7 separate regions of the Homo sapiens genome follow, and regions 1, 2, 3, 4, 5 and 6 are each linked to region 7. The links are contacts of gene promoters, found by promoter capture Hi-C in blood cells and fetal thymus (Javierre and others, 2016). All regions are on one chromosome and are shown on one strand. Each heading gives the region's core, a stretch centred on a gene start or on the middle of the fragment in contact. The rest is flanking DNA. Distances are from core to core; before and after follow the strand shown.

The links. The method cuts DNA at HindIII sites, captures the fragments that hold promoters and counts their contacts. A CHiCAGO score of 5 or more calls a contact.
Region 1: a contact is called between a fragment that was not itself captured here and the fragment with the promoter of AURKC in region 7, in 1 of 17 cell types (non-activated CD4 T cells). The highest score is 6.7, in non-activated CD4 T cells.
Region 2: a contact is called between a fragment that was not itself captured here and the fragment with the promoter of AURKC in region 7, in 1 of 17 cell types (non-activated CD4 T cells). The highest score is 6.7, in non-activated CD4 T cells.
Region 3: a fragment that was not itself captured here is called in contact with the fragment with the promoter of AURKC in region 7 in 1 of 17 cell types (non-activated CD4 T cells); the score reaches 6.1 in non-activated CD4 T cells.
Region 4: a contact is called between a fragment that was not itself captured here and the fragment with the promoter of AURKC in region 7, in 1 of 17 cell types (non-activated CD4 T cells). The highest score is 8.1, in non-activated CD4 T cells.
Region 5: a fragment that was not itself captured here is called in contact with the fragment with the promoter of AURKC in region 7 in 1 of 17 cell types (total CD4 T cells); the score reaches 5.4 in total CD4 T cells.
Region 6: a fragment that was not itself captured here is called in contact with the fragment with the promoter of AURKC in region 7 in 1 of 17 cell types (non-activated CD4 T cells); the score reaches 8.1 in non-activated CD4 T cells.

What each region holds. Positions count from the first base shown.
Region 1 is chr19:44,063,399-44,066,098 of GRCh38, forward strand. ZNF223 (zinc finger protein 223) reads left to right here. Exons shown (of 5, transcript NM_013361.6): 5 at 2,666-2,700. Among named protein-coding and RNA genes, the nearest start is that of ZNF284, 7.4 kb to the right of the region's middle. The HindIII fragment of the contact is 3,327 bases long and covers 1-2,700 here.
Region 2 is chr19:43,904,109-43,906,808 of GRCh38, forward strand. All of the region lies in intron 1 of ZNF45-AS1 (ZNF45 antisense RNA 1), which reads left to right. Among named protein-coding and RNA genes, the nearest start is that of ZNF45-AS1, 3.6 kb to the left of the region's middle. The HindIII fragment of the contact is 1,010 bases long and covers 792-1,801 here.
Region 3 is chr19:43,977,058-43,979,757 of GRCh38, forward strand. It overlaps a transcript of ZNF221 not described here. Among named protein-coding and RNA genes, the nearest start is that of ZNF155, 5.8 kb to the right of the region's middle. The HindIII fragment of the contact is 848 bases long and covers 941-1,788 here.
Region 4 is chr19:44,087,908-44,090,607 of GRCh38, forward strand. It overlaps ZNF284 (zinc finger protein 284), which reads left to right. Exons shown (of 5, transcript NM_001037813.4): 5 at 1-1,706. Among named protein-coding and RNA genes, the nearest start is that of ZNF224, 5.1 kb to the right of the region's middle. The HindIII fragment of the contact is 1,887 bases long and covers 419-2,305 here.
Region 5 is chr19:44,237,847-44,240,546 of GRCh38, forward strand. No RefSeq gene overlaps it. Among named protein-coding and RNA genes, the nearest start is that of ZNF233, 21 kb to the right of the region's middle. The HindIII fragment of the contact is 4,782 bases long and covers 1-2,700 here.
Region 6 is chr19:43,923,101-43,925,800 of GRCh38, forward strand. ZNF45 (zinc finger protein 45) reads right to left here. Exons shown (of 10, transcript NM_003425.4): 4 at 2,225-2,358; 5 at 1,302-1,461; 6 at 1,138-1,210. ZNF45-AS1 (ZNF45 antisense RNA 1) reads left to right here. Exons shown (of 3, transcript NR_184050.1): 2 at 2,042-2,154. Among named protein-coding and RNA genes, the nearest start is that of ZNF45, 11 kb to the right of the region's middle. The HindIII fragment of the contact is 2,032 bases long and covers 365-2,396 here.
Region 7 is chr19:57,229,676-57,232,375 of GRCh38, forward strand. It overlaps AURKC (aurora kinase C), which reads left to right and starts at 1,348. Exons shown (of 7, transcript NM_001015878.2): 1 at 1,348-1,631; 2 at 2,067-2,112; 3 at 2,358-2,549. The coding sequence starts at 1,574. The HindIII fragment of the contact is 17,293 bases long and covers 1-2,700 here.

The DNA of each region.
Region 1 (2,700 bases), core at 66-2,565, about 13 Mb before region 7:
CTGTTTCAGCTCTGCCATCTGGGGATGGCCAAGTGCCAATCAGCTCAGTGGAGCATCAGGGTAGCAGCCCCTGCCCTCTTGGCACCTGGGTTCTTGTCCAGCATCCAGGAAGAACCAGGTCACATGAACTGTGTGAAAGGTGATGAACGCAGAAGACTTTATTGAGTGGTGAGTGGTTCTCAGCAGAAAAGGAGGCTGGAAAGGGGCTGGGAAGGGGATCAACATGTTCCTGAAGCCAGGCCATTTGTGGCTGGGCCCCTCTCCAAAGCAGCACCTTCTGAAGTTAGCCACATCTATCCATACTTTCCGACACTCAGTTGCTTCTCTGCTCACCGCTCAGCGACTTGTATCCTTGCCACTCAGCTGCTTGTGTTGCTCTGCCAGCTGAAATCTTTTATGGTCACAGGATAGTGGCAGGCAGGCCAAAAAAAGCAACATTGGGGCAGAAAAATGGGGTCATCTGTTTTCACTTAGGGCTGAGGTTCTAGGCTTAAGGGTGGAGTTTGGCTAGGTATACTGATGGGTACCCACTTACCTATTAATATTTTCCAAGTTTCAACCTTTGGAACTTAACTCTCCATCAGAAAAATTTACCTAATTCAGGACTTGGTAATATCCTGACAAAGTTTTGAACATTTTGTGAGCATGAACCATAATAAGAAACACCTCTTTCAGTATAACCTGGACAGTTTTCATGCATGTAGGTGTATGTGAGTGACTTTAGCTGACATTTCATGTAACGACACCTTTCCTGCTTGTCTCCACACTGTGATAATTTTCATTCTGGCTCCTTTCTATAAATGTCTATTGAAGGTTTTAACTTTATTTCAGCTCACTGATGTGTAGTCTTGAATATAAAAACAGTTAAAAAGGCCTGTTTATCTACATCATAGGCTTTCTTTTCATTCCAAGTGATTCTTCACATCATTGATTGTCTGATGAAGAGCATCCTCCTTTGTGGACCTCTGGAAGGACAGCCTTTCAGATTCCCCTCAGAACTGCAGTTGTCTGTCTCTGTACTCTTTCAGATAACCAACTTATCATCCATATCAAAACAGAAAAATAAGATTAAGTATTTTATATGTGTCATGCAAAATTCTTGTATAGGAATACTTTCGATTTGTAGATATAAACATTCTAAGGTGTTTGATGTTTAGTATCATGAAGGGTTAAACTAAAAAGTTTAATGGGACATTTTACAGAGAACTGCTCTCACTTCACTCCAAGTGCAAATTCGGCAGTTTTTCAAAACTACCTTCACATTCAATAATTTCCTAGAAAGACCCTCAGAACTCACTGGATGTATTTATTCTCACAGTTACTGATTTTTACAAGCAAAAGATGCATATTATAGTTAACCAAGGGGGAAAAACCAAATAAGACAGAGTCCAGTGAAGTACCAAATGTGGATCTCCTATTGTATTCTCACAGTAGAGTCGGGCATGTTACATACCCAAAATTAGCATGTGACTTAGACACAAGGAACCACCAATCAGGGAAACTCAACTGAGTGCTGGGATCCAAGTAATTATTGGGGCTCCATTACATAGCCATAATTGGTTGGTTGATTCCTGTGTGGTTATTTAGTCTTTTGGTCCACTGGTTCCCTGTGACCTAAAGACCTACATTAAATCACATCGTTATTTTTTCTGACATGGGGAATGCCACCTGCCATTTCCCATCCCCCAAAGCTGTGGCTAGTCACAACCCTAAATTATATTATTTCACTGTCAAGAGTTACCCAAGATTTGCCCCCAAGCAAACAGAGAGACTCTCCTCAGGCATGCCCCTTCAAGATTCTACAGATTACCTCTCAGATACTGAGGACAAAGTCCTGACCTCTTTTTAGTTAGGTTAACTCCTTTTCTTATTTTTAAAAATGTTTTTTAAGCCATCTTAAACTGAAAGGAAGGTTAACTTCTTTATAAGGATATATAATATACAGGCAAATATACGAAGTATTTATTATGTTACTGCTTTCCCTTAGAGTTCCTTTTGATTCATATTTCATTACGTACATAATAGTTTAGTAATTTATCATGTAAAATTTCAGACTGAGTTGGAAATTTTAAAAACAGTAACAGGTTAAATGTATGTGTCATATTAATTTTTTATTAAACCTTTTATTTCTATCAATGATTTTTTATTTGAAATGTGGTATGTTTTTTTCTTTCTTTTCTTTTTTTTTTTTTTTTTTGAGGCAGAGTCTCACTGTGTCGCCCAGGCTGGAGTGCAGTGGCACGATCTCGGCTTGCTGCAACCTGCGCCTCCTGGGTTCAAGCAATTCTCCTGCCTCAGCCTCCCAAGTATCTGGGATTATAGGTGTGTGCCACCACACCTAGCTGATTTTTGTATTTTTAATAGAGACGGGGTTTCACTATGTTGGTCAGGCTGGTCCCGAATTCCTGACCTCAAGTGATCTGCCTGCCTCAGCTTCCCAAAGTGCCTTGGTCTCCCAAAGTGCTGGGATTATGGGTGTGAGCCACCGTCCCCAGTGACATGGTATGGTTTTAGATTACTCTCATGCAAACCAGAAACCAGGGTGCACTTGGAAAACACAAACTGAACATTCGTTGAAGTTTCATACCATGTCCTAAGTGTGAACTCTTAAAAACACTGAACAGGGCATAGCTTGTCCTGATCTCTTAATTTTGTATTCTGATAGGAGGCAAGATCCAACCTGAGATGAAGACTTTTCCA
Region 2 (2,700 bases), core at 47-2,546, about 13 Mb before region 7:
AGCCAAAGAGAGAGACCTCACAAGAAACAATACTGCTGACACCTTGATATCAGACTTCTACCCTTCAGAACTGTAAGGAAATTAATTGGTGTTGTTTAAGCTGCCCAGTCGGTGGTACTTTGTTAGGTATGATCCAGAGCCTCAGATCAGAAAACCAAAAATGTTCAGTTCTAACAGAAAATCACTTACCACACCAAGAACTGGGAAGATCTCAAACTGAATGAAAAAGACTCAATAGATGCCTACACTAGGATGATAGAAATATTTGAACTATTTGACAAGAATTTTAAAGCATCCACCTTAAAAATGCTTCAGACAATAATTATGAACATGCTTGAAATAAATTAAAATATAGAATGTCTCAGCAAAGAAATCAAAGATATAATGGAACACCAAGGAATTTTGACTCCTGAGAAATTTAGTAACCAATTAAAAACTCATTGGATGTACTCAGCAGCAGAAAGGAAAGAACAGAGGAAAGAATCAGGAAACTGGAAGACAGAACAGTAGAAATGACCCAGAATGAACAACAGACTGGATAAAAGACCAAAAACACAAAAATGTGTAAAACTCTACAGAAATTGACATAACAATTATAGTTAAACATAGTAATACTCTGCTGACAATTGATAGATGAAAAATCAATAAGGACAGAGAAAACTTGAACAATATTATCAACCAATTAAATTTAATTGACATTAACATTCTGCCAAACAGCAGCAAATTGCCCAATTTTTCCAAGTACATATGTCAAGATAGGCCATAACCTGGACCATGCAACAAATCTCAAAAGCTTTATAAGGATTCAAGTTATATAAAATACATTCTCTATTCCACAATGGAATTAAATTAGGAATCAATAACAAAAAGATAGCAGGAACTAAATAACTTTTTTTTTTTTTTTTTGAGACAGTCTTGCTCTGTCACCCAGGCTGGAGTGTAGTGGCACAGTCTTAGCTCACTGCAACCTCCACCTCCTGAGTTCAAGCGATTTTCCTGCCTCAGCTTCCCAAGTAGCTGGGACTACAGGTGTAAGCTGTACACCAGGCTAATTTTTGTATTTTTAGTAGAGACAGGGTTTCGCCATGTTAGCTAGGCTAGTCTCCAACTCCCTAGTGACCTGCCCTTCTGGGCCTCCCAGAGTGCTGGGATTACAGGTGTGAGTCACCACACCCGGCCAGCATTTCAGAGTCTATAGGTCAAATAAAATAAAATAAAAAATAAAAACAACATATCAAAACATATAGGATGTAGATAAAATAAGACTTCAAGGAAAATTTATAGCATTAAATGCCTATATTAAAAGAGAAGAGTGTCTCAGTGACTGATATGGTTTGGGTTTCAGATGCTCTTCTTTTTCTCTTGTTTCTTAAGATAAACACTGTATTCGTCCATCAGTGACTGATATGGTTTGGATCTGTGTCCCCACTAAATCTCATGTCAAATTGTAATCCCCAGTGTTGACGGTAGGGCCTGGTGGGAGGTGAATAGATCGTGGGTGTGGAGTTCTCATGAATGGTTTAGCACTATCCGCCTTTGGTACTGTATAGTGAGTGAATTCTCAGGAGATCTGGTTGTTCGAAAGTACATGGCACCTCCTCCCTTGCTCTCTTCCTCCTGCTCCAGCCATGTGATTTGTGCCATAAGTAAAAGCTCCTTGAGACCTCCCCAGAAGCAGAAGCCACTGTGTTTCCTGTACAGCCTGCAGCACTGTGAGCAACTAAACCTCTTTTCTTTATAAATTACTCAGTCTTAGGGATTTCTTTATAGCAGTGTGAGAACAGACTAATATAGTGACCTAAGCTTTTACCTTAAGAAACAAGAAAAAAAGAACATCTGAAACCCAAAGTAGGCAGAAGGAAACAAAAAAAAGAGAGAAATCCATGAAATGTGCACACCTGTTCATGATAAAAAACACATTCAACAAATTAGAAATGGAAGGGAACTTCTTCAACATACCACCTATAAAACACCCACAGCCAATATCATACTTAATGGTGAAAGACAGAGTACTTTCTAAGATCAGGGACAAGACAAAGATGTGCACTCTCACCACTTTTTTTTTTTTTTTTTTTTTTTGAGACAGGAGTCTTGCCCTGTTGCCCAGGCTGGAGTACAGTGGCGCGATCTCAGCTCACGGCAACCTCCGCCTTCCGTGTTCAAGGGATTCCCCTGCCTCAGCCTCCTAGTAGCTGGAATTAAAGGCACCTACCACCACGCCCGTCTAATTTTTGTATTTTTAGTAGAGATGGGGTTTCACCATGTTGCCCAGGCTGGTCTTGAACTCCTGACCTCAAGTGATCTCCCTGCCTCAGTCTCTCAAAGTGCTGGAATTACAGGCATGAGCCACCACGCCCAGCCAACTCTCACCACTTCTATTTGATACATGCTGGAGGTTCTAGCCAGGGCAACTAGGCAAATAAATGAAATAAGAGACATCCATATGGAAATGAAGAAGTACAATGAAGAAGTAAAGCTATATTTGCAGATATGATTTTATATACATAAAGTCCTAAGGAAATCACAAAAAACTAATAAGACTAGTAAATGAGTTCAGCAAAGTTACAGGAAGATCAATATGCAAAAAAATTGTGTTCTTACACACTAGCAATGAATAATCAAAAAATGAAAGTAGGAAAACAATTCCATTTACAACAGAATTTGAAGAAAATACTTAAGGAATAAAGTTAACAAATGAAG
Region 3 (2,700 bases), core at 115-2,614, about 13 Mb before region 7:
AAAAGAGAAGAGCATAATGTATGCCTTAGGGAAATCCTATTGTAGCCTTCATAACAAACTAAGTGTCTTTGTGTTTCTGGGTTTGTTTATTTGGTTATTTTTAGTGTGTATGTACATCATTTGTGGATGAATATTCTGACATTTTCCCTGGCAATGAGTATTTGCTGGAATTTTTCATTTTATAATTTTATGCATTTTAAATTTCTCATTGAACACCAATTTTACCAAAGCAGTTATGTGATGAAAAATTTGAAAAATTATTAATATTAATCACTTACCTATAAGGACTCTGAATAAGATTGCTCTACATTGTCATATGACAGTTCAAAATTAAGGAATAGGGATGTGGAAGTCATATTTCAAAATAAAAAAATGTATCTGGTCACCTGGATATACAGATTGATGAGTGTGGTCAACTGCCTTCATAACTAATGTGTGTGATTCTGCTTTAGGCATAAGTCAGGAAGCAAGCAAATCCTAGTGACAGAAATAATGTGGGTATATATAGTTGTGGAGGTTAAAAAAACAGATTCTTTGAAGAACAAATGCGCATGATCAGGGAACTTAACATGACAGCAGCAGTCTCTTAGTGTGTGGAACCAGCTCGGACAAAGAGCTGATTTGGGTGCTAATTCATAGTTATACACCATGGTGTAACTTAACTGTATTAGGTTAAAAGGCATTCTTCAAAGTGTCTAGTTGAGATAGTAAGCTTTTCATAATTAATTTTCTAAATAATGTATTTTCATGATGCTATATTCATGCTGTGCCAGTTTGGATAGTAGATTGGAGGTCCCTAAGACCACCTCTGGGTTCTGTGATTTACTAAAATAACTGAGACTATAGTTGTACTTATAACAATATTACAGTGACAAGATACAAAACAGAATCTGTAAAGGGAAATGGCTCATGGGCAGTTGTCTAGAGGAAACCAGAAGCAAGCTTACCAGAGTCCTCTCTGCATGGTGTTACATAAGACTCAACTCCTCTAGCATTGAATTGTGATACTACTTGTGAAATGTCTACAATGGAAGCTCATTAGCAACCAGCAGCACAGGTTCTTATTGAGATTGATTATGTAGGTATGTGTCTAGTACATATCAAGATTCCCAACTCTAAGAAGAAGAGCAAGTGTTCCAAATAAGCTGCATTGTAGAGTTTAGGCGCAGTGACCACTCCTACCCATTATGGAAAGGTGGTAACTCTCTCAAACCCCATGTTCCTTGACTCCAGCCAAAGGCCAGTGTTGCAAACAGCTCTTTTTAAAGTTAGCAGTCTGACTTATGCCTGCTATGTTAACTTTTTGTGCATGTGGTATCAGAAAAGTAGGGCCTGCAGTCTTGTGGGGTTTTCTTAAACTATCACCAGATAATAGTTCATCTCTAAGATAATTATTTGTAAAAGAAAATTCATCAGATTACATTTTTAAATATTTTTATAATAAAAAATACCATAGGTAGGCCTTCCATCTACCCTCGTGTGTGTCTGGGTCCTCAAATTGGTCACAGGATGATATTAACAGCTGATTTGTTTTTATTGTTCATATTTATGTCTCACAGACTGCATGAGTATTTGACTCCCAATAAAACTGAATATTGAATACCTAGCTTCATATGTAGTACCTGAGCTTTTGTGTGGCCAGTATTTCTTGCCACTTCTCACGATGGACTGGGTCTCTTTTATGTATATGACCCTGGCAAGTTCACTATGTTAACTTTGAAATTGGGTACATTATTATAATTGGGAATTATTGCAGAGTCTCAATCTCTGTGTTTGAAAAATGAGGGAAGCTTCCCAAGTTATTATTCTCTGACCATATCAGTAGGATATCCATTTAAATGTTTGAGCTAAATGCCACAACATTTGTGTGTGTGTGTTTTTTTTTTTTTTTTTTTTTTTTGATACACTATGACAATAACTTCCTGGATAGATTTGTTGTTGTTTTTAATTTTTATAGTAAAAATACACTCATTTTACTTGCAAGAATAATGTCTAGACATTGGAAACAATTACTTTGGTACAGAAAAGTCTAAAAAAGAAAGTGGAAGATAGGAAGTATGAATATTTTGGTAAGGATGGTTCAGCATATCTATGCATATAGGTAACAATTGTATAGAATTTTACAAAACTAGGAACACACTAAGCATACTTGCTCCTAACAGGATTGTCCTAATATGACACTAATGTTAAAGGCTGTATAAATAAGTTGACCTCCAACCTCATTTCTAATGCCTGCTGTATCCTGGTGTACTGAATATTAATTTTTCCTTAAACAGTTTTCTGATGATGAGGATCTGTGTGGTATCAATTTTAATTACAACATGCCTAGACTACAGTCCCTAGTTATTTAATCAAACAGTAATACATATATATATATATATATATATGGAAGGCATTTTGTAGATATTTAGCCCATAATCAGTTGGCTTTGAGTAGGGATATTATGTGAGATAATGTCAGTGGGCCTGATGAATCACTTGAAATTATTTAAAAGTAGAGCTGAAGCTTCTTTGAAAAAAGAAATTGCACCTTTTAGTAGCATCTTCCTCTCGTGGGTTAGTGTTCCATCTGAGCCATCCTGGGGTATAGCCATATGTTTTTTGCAGTTGCTTAGCCAGTCCCACAGTGGCATAAGAAAGTTCCTTGCAATAAATCATTTGTATATGTCATATTGATTTTGTTACTCCGTTTCAACGCTGA
Region 4 (2,700 bases), core at 112-2,611, about 13 Mb before region 7:
TACAGGCGCCCGCCACCACACCTGACTAATTGTTGTATGCGTAGTAGAGATGGGGTTTTGCCATATTGGCCAACCTGGACTTGAACTCCTGACTTCAGATGATCCGCCCACCTCGGCCTCCCAAAGTGCTGGGATTACAGGCGTGAGCCACCATGCCCACCATGCCTAAAAATTTTTGTATTTTTAGTGAAGATGGGGTTTCACCACATTGGCCAGGCTAGCCTTGAACTCCCAAACTCAAATGGTCCACCTGCCTTGGCCTCCCAAAGTGCTGGGATTACAGGCATGAGCCACCGTGCCCAGCCAATGCTATGCTGCTTCTATGATGTCAACTTTTTAGCTTCCACATATGTGTGAAAACATGTGGTATTTATCTTTCTGGGCCTGAATTTACATCACTCAACATCATGTTCTCCAAAGCTTATCTTTATCTTGCCATAAATGACAGAATTTTATTATTTTTTATGGTTAAATAGTGTACCTTTGTGTATGTATGCCACATTTTCTTTACCATTTTCTGTTGATGAACACTTAGATTGGTTCCATATGTTAGCTATTGCAAATAGTACTATAATAAATATAGGAGTGCAGATAGGAGTTCAACACACTGATTTCCTTTCCTTTGGATATACAGCTAGTAGTGGGATTGCTGGATCACTTGAATGCTGATATGCATAAGAGGATCTACACTGGAGAAAAACCATGGAAGTGTGGAGATTGTGGTACATGCTTCAGTCAGGGCTCACATCTTCAAATTCAGTGTCTGTTCTGTAGAGAAACCTTAATAATGTGATATATGTGACAGCAAAGAGTTATAAGATATGAATATGTTAATTTTAGTAGATACTTCCGAAAAGTATTTCAAACTGGTTGTACCACTATAAACTCTGACCATTATTAGGCAAGAATTGGCTTTTTTTTTTTTTTTCTTTTGAGACAGTCTTGCTCTGTCACCCAGACTGGCATGCAGTGGAATGATCACGGCTCCCTGCAGCCTTGACCTCCCAGGCTCAAGAAATCCTTCTGCCTCAGCCCCTCAAAAGCTGGGACTATAGGCATGCAACAACACGCCTGGCTAAATTTTTGTTGTAGAGATGGGGTCTCACTATGTTGCCCAAATTGGTCTCAAACTCCTGGGCTCAAGCGATTCTCCCTCCTCAGCCTTCCAAAGTGCTGGGATTACAGGCCTGAGCCATGCGCACAGCATTTTGTTTTGTTTTGTTTTGTTTTTGAGATGGGGTCTCTCGGTGTTGCCCAGGCTGGATTGCTTATTCACAGATGCAGTTACAGTGCCCTATAGCCTCGAACTCCTGGGCCTAAGTGATCCTCTTGCTTCAATCCCCTGAGAAGCTGGGACTACAGGCATGGACCACCACCCCTGATTGATCTTCTTTAGTTTCTATAACAAAATAGTACACTGTTTCCACAAACTTGGGAAGGCTAGTATTTGGGGGTGGGGGGCGTGGAAATCACTAAACAACAAAGAAAATCTGATGAATTGGACAGCATAAAAATATTGGCATAAAGATGAACATAACATAAGCAGGAATATTTAAAGCACATACTTTTTATAGAGTGTCTCCCCTGTAATGTCTCTGGTTAAATGAAAGGGTTTCAAATGTGAAGACAACCCTAACCATACTCATTATCTGTAAAAGATGTAGCATTGTCATGGACTCCTTAATAAACGTGAAGACTTTAATCCATCTGAAGGTGCATCACATTTCTGAAGTTTCCAACACTGACAAGGTGATGGGCTTATGGATGAAAACTCATGAATGGGAAAAACTCAGCTATCGTTAAAGCCCATATATTTTATTAAAGATATTGGGGCTGTCTCCTAAATCTAGTTAGTGATGAATTTCAAGTCTAGAGCCATCACCGAATCCTTGTCCACATTCATTACACATAGGTTTTCTGAGAAAATTGTCTGCTGGTTATGAGAGGTCTTCTCCCGTGCCAAAGTGAGTATAATAACCTTGCTTTTGGCCAGGTGCGGTGGCTCACACCTGTAATCCCAGCGCTTTGGGAGGCCGAGGTGGGCAGAGTGCCTGAGGTCAGGAGTTTGAGACTAGTCTGGCCAACATGGTGAAAACCCATCACTATTAAAAATACAAAACAATTAGCTGGGTGTGGTGGTGGCGTGTGCCTGTAATCCCAGCTACTCAGGAGGCTGAGGCAAGGGAATTGCTTGAACCAGGGAGGTGGAGGTTGCGGTGAGCCGAGATCACGCCACTGCACTCCAGCCTGAGTGACAGAGTGAGACTCCATCTCAAAAAAATAAAAATAAAAATAAAAGTAAACAAGCTTGCTTTCTTTTATGTGCTCCTTGATTTTGATGGTGATGTGAAATCAAACTGAAGCTGAAAATACAATAATCACATTTATACAGGGCATTTTTCAAGGAAATTTATTGATTTTTACTTTAATAATTTAGTGCCTCACTTTTGTAAGTCTCTTGTAAGTGGCCAGGCATGGTGGCTCACACCTGTAATTCCAGCACTTTGGGAGGCTGAGGCAGAAGGATCAATTGAATCTAAGAGTTTGAGACCAGCTTTTTACAGAGTGTCTCCCCTATAATGTCTCTGGTTAAATGAAAGATTTTCAACTGTGAAGACAACCCTAACCATACTCATATTCTAGTTCCTTTGCCTTTCCATATAAATTTTAGAATAATTTTATATCTACAAAATATCTTGC
Region 5 (2,700 bases), core at 118-2,617, about 13 Mb before region 7:
TTTTAGCTGTGGATATTGGAAGATGTTCAGAATATATTAACTTGAAAAACAAAATGTGAGATTTTTATGTGATCCTATTTTGTAAAAACGCATAGATGAATGGGTATTATAGTTCTCTCTAAATAATGGGATTTTACTTTATGTATATTTTTATATTTCTTTAAACTTATTTTGAAATAATTTGAAACTTTCAGAAAAATTACAGAAATTATATAAAAGCTCCCATATACTCTTTACCCAGATTCACCAGTTGTTAAGATGTTTGAATTATTCTCTCAATAAGTATGAGCGTGTATATACTGATACTTATACATACTAAACGCATTTATATATAAAGTTTTGCCATATGAATATGTTACAGACATCCTTCTCCCTACACTAAATACTTAAGTGTGCTTTCCTAAGAACAAGGATATCTACTTAGTTACAGTACAACATTCCAGTGATTTATTTATTTAGAGACAGGGTCTCATTCTGTTGCCCAGGCTGAGTGCAGGGTGGTGATTATAGCTCACCGCAGCCTTGAACTCCTGGGCTCAAGCAATCCTCCCCACTCAGCCTTTCAAGTAGCTGGGACTGCAGGCGTGGACCACCATGCCCACCTAATTTTTAAGATTTTTGTAGAGATGGGCTCTCGCTATGTTGTCTAAGCTGGTATCGAACTCTTGGGCTTAAGTGATCGTTCCACCTCAGCCTTCCAAAATGCAAGGTTTACAGGCATGAGCCACTGCACCCAGAAAGAAAATTTATTATTGATACATAACACTATGTAACCTACAGACCTTATTTAAATCTTAAAATTATCCCAATAATATATTTATTGTTTTTCTGCTCTAGAGTCCAAAGATTACACATTGCATTTAGACTCCTTTAATCTGAGTTGCTACCTCTGTTTTTAATGACCTTGATATTTTTGAGATTATTTTGTAGAATGTCTCTTAATTTGGATTTGCCTGAGGTTTCCTTACAATTGGATTTAAATTACACATTTTTTTCCCATGAGGACTCTGTAAGTGGTGTGCAGCACGTGAGGAAACGAGGTATGTTTGTACCTTTATAGGTGATGTTAACTTGGAACACTTGATTGGGGAGGGCGGTGCTGGGTTTTTCCACTGCGAAATTACTATTTTTTTCTTTGTAATTAATAATTACAAAGGCAACTCCTGGGGAGACACTTTCTGACTCTAAATAGCTTGTTTTTCAGTAAATTTTCCTCCACTAGTTTAAGCATTCTGTAAGTCTGGTCTAAATCAGTAATTGCTCTGATGGTGCGAAAGTGTGATATATTCAACTTTCATCATTCCTCCAACACTTGTTAGATTGTTGTTCTACTCTAAGGAAGTTTCCCTTCTGTCCTGTTTGCCCATCATGTATTTTTAAATAAATTGGAGCACATCTTTACTCTGACACAATACAGTGTTCCAAGCTCATCTTGTACCCTTCCTGCACCATCCATGGAATTTGCTGTTTCTTTGAGAACTCAGATTCTTCTGATTGGGGGATGGTAGTTAAACATCAAGATCTGGGTAATAGCTGTGCCTTTTTTTTTTTCCCTCTAGGAAGGAGGGGAAAGAGTTATACAGATAGGAAGAGAAGTAGAAAGGTAGAAAGAATTAATGATGAGTTCCTGCTTTTATCTCTAGTTCTTAAATTAATATCATAGTGTTTTTTTTCTAGCCTTACCCCCATTCTATGTTGCATCTTCATTCTTCAAGAATCAGAAATTTGTCTCCCAGTATCATTCATATATTTACTGGGGAATGTGGACATGCATCCAACTAGAACTTGGGGGTTCTGTCTTTCAGAGAGAACGGGAGTATTGGATGACTGATGCCAGAGATGATTTTTGAATGGCATAGTCTCCCAAACATTATAATTTTTCCTATTCTCAGGGTATTGACCCTTTAAACCAAATAAAATGTTCCCGTAGGGCCATGAAGAAAAGTATCTGATAGAAATATCCAAAGATAGATATATTCAGATGAGAGCCTTCCAGTCAATGTTTCCTTGCAGATAGTGTTAAGGAATGGTTTCTGGTGAAGTGTTGCGGAGCTCTCCTAGCCTGTGAGTGTCACGGATGCCATTGATTAGCATTGCTTTACTTTATTTACCTCTCATTCTCTGAACCTTCTCAGAGGTAGTTTGACAAAGTTCTCAAAGCACATCCCTCTACTGCTTCTTGAGAGGACCAAGGCATTTTAGGAGAAACTAGTGTTAACGAGACCAAGTCAGAATATTGGTAATAAAGTAGTAGAGTATAATAGAAAGCAGACTGTCAGCCAGGCACAGTGGCTCACACCTATAGTCTCAACTACTCAGGAGGCTGAGGTGGGAGGATCACTTGAGCCCAGGAGTTTGAAGCTGCAGTGAGCTGTGATTGGACCACTGCATTCCAGCCTGGGTGACAGTGAGACCCCATCTTGAAAAAGCCAACTGGGTGCAGTGGCTCCCGCCTTTAATCCCAGCACTTTGGCTGGCCGAAGTGGGTGGATCACCTGAGGTTAGGAGTTCCAGACCAGTCTAGTCAACATGGTGAAGCCCTGTCTCTACTAAAAATACAAAAAGTTAGCCAGGCGTGGTGGTTAGCCCCTGTAATCCTAGCTATTCGGCTGAGGCAGGAGAATCAATTGAACCCAGCAGGTGGATGTTGTAGTGAGCTCAGATCGTGCCATTGCACTCCAGCCTGGGCAACGAGTGAAA
Region 6 (2,700 bases), core at 131-2,630, about 13 Mb before region 7:
CAGGTGTGAGCCACCACACTCAGCTGATGAATTCTTTAGTAGAGGTTTTTTAACCTCTACTTTAACCTCGCCTTTAACCTCTGAAATACCTGTTATTCTCTCTTGGTTTCCCATACTTAATTTGAGGCTTTTGCAATAGTATTTAAGATTACAGTGGTCCTTCCTATCCATAGTTTTGCTTTCTGTGGTTTCAGTTACCTGAAGTCAACTATGGCCCAAAAATAGGTGAGTACAGTGCAGTAAGATATTCTGAGAGAGAGAGAGAGACCATGTTTATAGAACTTTTGTTACAGTATTTTATCATTATTCTATTTTATTATAAGTTATTGTTGTTAGTCTCTTACTGTGCCTAATTTATAAATTAAGCTTTATCATAAGTATGTAGGTAAAGGAAAAACATAGTATATTTAGGGTTCAGTAATATCTGAGGTTTAAGTCATTCACTGGGGGACTTGGAAGGTATCTGCTGTGGATAAGGGGGGACTACTGTACATAGATGACTGCTTTTTTTGATAGTAAAATATGTAACATAAAATTTACCATTTTAACCATTTTTTAAGTGGTTACATTCAGTAAGTACATTTACATTGTTGTGCAGCCATCACCACTATCCATCATCAGAATTTTTTATGTACCCATTAAGTAATAATTCCCCATTCCCCCTCCCAGCCCCTGATAACCACGTTATCTCTATGAATTTGACTATATGGACTGGTTTCTAAAAGGTATAAGACCTTGCAAAATTTGGCTGTGTAGAGTGGCTCATGCCTGTAATCCTAGCACTCTGGGAGGCCAAAGTGGGAGGACTGCTTGAGGCCAAGAGTTCAAGACCAACCTGGCCAACAGAGTGATCTCTAAAGAGAAAAAAAAAAAATCTAAAAAAAAAAAAAAAGACCTTGCAAAATTTACTTTAACAGTAGGGCCTTAAAAAGACTATCATAGAGACAGAGAAAATTTAATAAAAAATCATGACTCTGCAAGATTTATGCAACTATAAATTAGATAATGTCACTGAAATTAACAAGCTATAGGAAGCACAATAATAACAACAAAAATGGTGATATTTAACTAAATACATATTAGGGACCTTATGAAGAACTTGGCACATGATGTTTCATTAAGGTACTTCACACATACCTGTGAAGAAGCTACTGTTGTATCAGTTGTGTGACCTTGGTCCAAACACCTAAACTTCTGTGCCTATGCTCAGCTATAAGAAGGGAAATGAAAACAGGATGTTAATCATAGGATTACTGTGAGGAATCAATGAGTGAATTTATGCAATGCCCTTGGCATAGTACCTGGCATTTTAGGGAGTTCTCAACAGATGATAATGACGACAATTGTATCCATTTAACAGGCGAGGAAGCTGAGGCTTGGTGAGGTCAAGAGGCAGGAACAGTACCTGAATCCAGCTTTCATACCAGAGCCAGTATTCTAAATCTTGTCTCTCTGTTGCTTCTAAAGACAAAAATAAGCAGATGGGAGTCTAAGATCTCATGGAAGGAGAAATGAGGGCTCCAGAGTTAGGGGTAAAAGACAGACACAGAAATGGAGATTGGACTCTGAAGCCAAGGGAGCTGCTTGAGGGAGTAGAGAACAGAGTTGTGAACAGTCTAGACTCCAGAACCAGCCCACCAGTACTGGAATACAGGCATGTCCAACTTGCTAGTACTTTGTGCTCTAATGTCTAATCTATAAACTGGATGTAATAATAATACCTACTTCATAGGAAGGTCAGTGAAAGTGACTAAGTATACACAAAACATGTGGAACAGTTTCTGGCAGCTTAAACAATCAATAGAAGTTACACATAAACCCATGCAGATGCTTTACATGAAACAGTCAGGGAGCCCCTCCCTTGCTGCTGTGGACCAATGTCTGTGTCCCCTCAAAATTCTTATGTTGAAGCCCTAATGTGATGTTATTGGGAGGTGGGGCCTTTAGGAGGTAATTAGGTCATGAGGGTGAAGCCTCCATAATGGGATTGCTTTCCTTGTAAGAAAAGCAAGTAACCTAGCTCTTTCTCTCTTCCTCCCAGGAAGATACAAGACAACAGCTTCTGCGAACCAGTAAGAGTGGCCTCATTAGACATTGGATTTGCCAGTGACTTGATCATGGACTTCCCAGTCTCCAGGACTGTGAGTTATAAAGGTTTGTTGTTTAAGCCACCCAGCCTATGGTATTGTTTGTTATAGCAGCACAAATGGACTAAGGCACTCACGGAGTCTGCAGCTTCACATGGCTTGATGATGGGGAAACATGGGCTGGATTCCAGATTCCACTTGACCCTTCAGCAGAGAGCCTCTGCACAGTGAAAAATGGAGTTCTTGTAGCTCTCAGGGTATGATTCTGATTCTATGGAGGGTGGAAACGAGTAAAATACCCAGATTAAAAGCTTAGTATTAGTTAATTACTGCTTGATTTATTAGTAAATTATTCTTAGTTCTCTTACTTCAGATAGAAGAACCCTTACTATTGAAAAGGGAAACATAAAACCTTCCAATCTTAGAAGAAATACTTATTTATTTATTTTTCTGAAATGGAGTCTTGCGCTGTGGCCCAGGCTGGAGTGCAGTGGAATGATCTCAGCTTACTGCAACCTCAGCCTTCCGGGTTCAAAAGATTATCCTGCCTCAGCCTCCCCAGTAGCTGGATTATGGGCACCCGCCACCATTCCTGGCTAATTTTTTTTGTTTC
Region 7 (2,700 bases), core at 98-2,597:
GCAGGAGAAATGTTTGAACCTAGGAGGCGGAGGTTGCATGAGCTGAGTTCGAGCCACTGCACTCCAGCCTGGGTGACAGAGCAAGACTCCGTCTCAATAAACAAACAAACAGACAGGTTTGGGAAAGCCTCTGAGAAAGGAATGGTTGGCCTGAGCTAAGCGCCATTACCCTGATCCACCTATTGTAACCACCTAATGGGTTCATTATTTTCCCTGCTCCCCAGATAGAGTCGACTTATCAAGACAGGATAATTGCAATAAAGGGTTTAATTCACATCAATCGAGCTAAATGAGAGACCAGAGTTTTATTACTCAAATAGGTCTCCCCAAATATTTTGAGACGAGCTTTTTTGTTTTTGGGTTTTTTTGTTTTTGTTTTTGTTTTTTTTGAGACAGAGTCTCGTTCTCCTTCTGTCGCCCAGGCTGGAGTGCAGTGGCATGATCTTGGCTCACTGCAACCTCCGCCTCCAGGGTTCAAGCGATTCTCTTGCCTCAGCCTTTTGAGTAGGTGGGATTACAGGCATGCGCCACCACACCCGGCTAATTTTTGTAGTAGAAACGGGGTTTCGCCCTGTTGGCCAGGCTGGTCTCGAACTGCCTACCTCAGGTGATCCGCCCGCCTCGGCCTCCCAAAGTGCTGGGATTACAGGCATGAGCCATCACGCCAGGCCTTCAATTATATTTCTGCAAGATATGTTCCCTGTCTAAAAGAATTCAATTTTTAATGTTTTTGAAACTTATGTGTTTGCTAAACAAATACGTGGGGGCTGATTTTACGATCTGAGGCCAAATCCACAAACTGATTACAGGGTCCAACAAATATTTGGCGAGTGGGAGGAGAGGGGTAAGTGAGCTGGACTGGTGGCGTCCTGGCTGTGAGCAGGCACAGCCGCAGGCTTCAGGGAGCCCCATCGCGGTGACCCTGGAGAGTGGCCTGAATCGGACGTGACCTTGAAGCAAGGTGGTTTTGGGGTCGCCGGCTGCACAAGGCGCGAAGTGGTTTAGGGTCACGGGCTGCACGAGGCTCCAGCACGTCAGGAGTGGGCGTCTGTTCATTCCCACGTGCATCGCGGCTCTCTCCTAGTTGACGCATGCACACCCCGTGGGTGTATGCGTTGTTCATTCCCACAACGGCCATCACCACCTCTCCGCACCCTCTGTCTCCTTCCTTCTCGGGCCTCACCCCTGGCCCTCGCTTTCAGTGCCCAGCCCGGACCGCAGCACTCCAGTTCCGCCCCAACCCGGGAACCCTGGACTGAGGCTCCCGTTTCTGTCCTTTCTATTGGGCGCACTTCCGATGGCGTCAGGAATTTCAGCCAATAGGAGCCAGCCAGGAAGTACCTCTCTGAGCGGTTGGTGCCGGGTATAAAAGAAGGCCGCGCAGCCACGGCTGCTCACGACGCCGCGGATCCCGAAGCCTGTGTAGCAGTGAGACATCAGTGAGGCTGCAGGACGAGCAGGATTGGAAGCGCCCCGGCCAGAAAGTGACCCCCCACCCCTTTCAGGACCCTGTGAACGGGAACAGCCATCCAGAGGGTTCAGGAAGGCGTCCGCGCCCTCACCTCTTCTCCCCATGAGCTCCCCCAGAGCTGTGGTGCAGCTGGGCAAAGCTCAACCTGCAGGCGAAGAGTGTGAGAGCCAGCGCCAGAGAAAGGACGCAGGGAAGGCTGGGGACTGGGCCAGGGGTCGGGTGCACAGAAGACACATGTGTTGACATCTCCCCTCCCTCTCCTCCTCCCCAACGCTCTTCTTTTCTCCCCACTCCCTCCCTTCCCTCCAATTCTTTCTTTCACCTCTCCCTCCCCTACTCTCTCCTCCCCTTCCTTTCTCTCTGCCTCTTCTTCACCTCCTCCTCCCCTCCCTACCTTACCTTACTCTTTCTTCTTCCCCTTACCTCTCCCTCCCCCTCTCCCTGCCTTCCCCTTCCCTCTCTTTCTCTCCTCCCCTTCTTCCCCTCACCTCTCGCTCCCTATTCCCTTCTCTACTGTTCTCCTCTCCTCTCTTTCTCTCCCCTTCTCCTTCCCTCCCCTCTCCCTTCCTATCTCCCTCCTCCTCCTCTCTTTCAGTGGCTACAGCAAACCAAACAGCCCAGCAGCCCAGCAGCCCAGCCATGTGAGTCCCTTGGGATTGGTATCTGGAAAAGGAAGGAAGGTGGGACGTGGGGATGAAGAACAGACTGGGTGTGTGGGGTGCTGGCTCCTGGGAACGAGAACTACTGATAGGGCTGGGTCTGTGTGAGAAGGGAAAGCGGCAGAGGAAGGATACAATGAAAGAGGAAGGGGAGCATTGGCATCCCTGACTTTCCCTCCGCCTACCCTACCTCCCAAGCTGAGGCTTTTTTCTTCCTCTCCTGTCAGGCGGCGCCTCACAGTCGATGACTTTGAAATCGGGCGTCCCCTGGGCAAGGGGAAATTTGGGAATGTGTACCTGGCTCGGCTCAAGGAAAGCCATTTCATTGTGGCCCTGAAGGTTCTCTTCAAGTCGCAGATAGAGAAGGAAGGACTGGAGCACCAGCTGCGCCGGGAAATTGAGATCCAGGCTCATCTACAGTAAGGACAGTCTCTGCTTCCTCTTTCATCTTTGACGTCTGAGCCCAGCATTTTCCCCAAATACTAACCCCAAGTAAACCCTGCACTTGTACCTTGAAGACTTCTCTGCAGTTCATTCCATTTACACTACCTCCTACCCTGGGTCAGACAC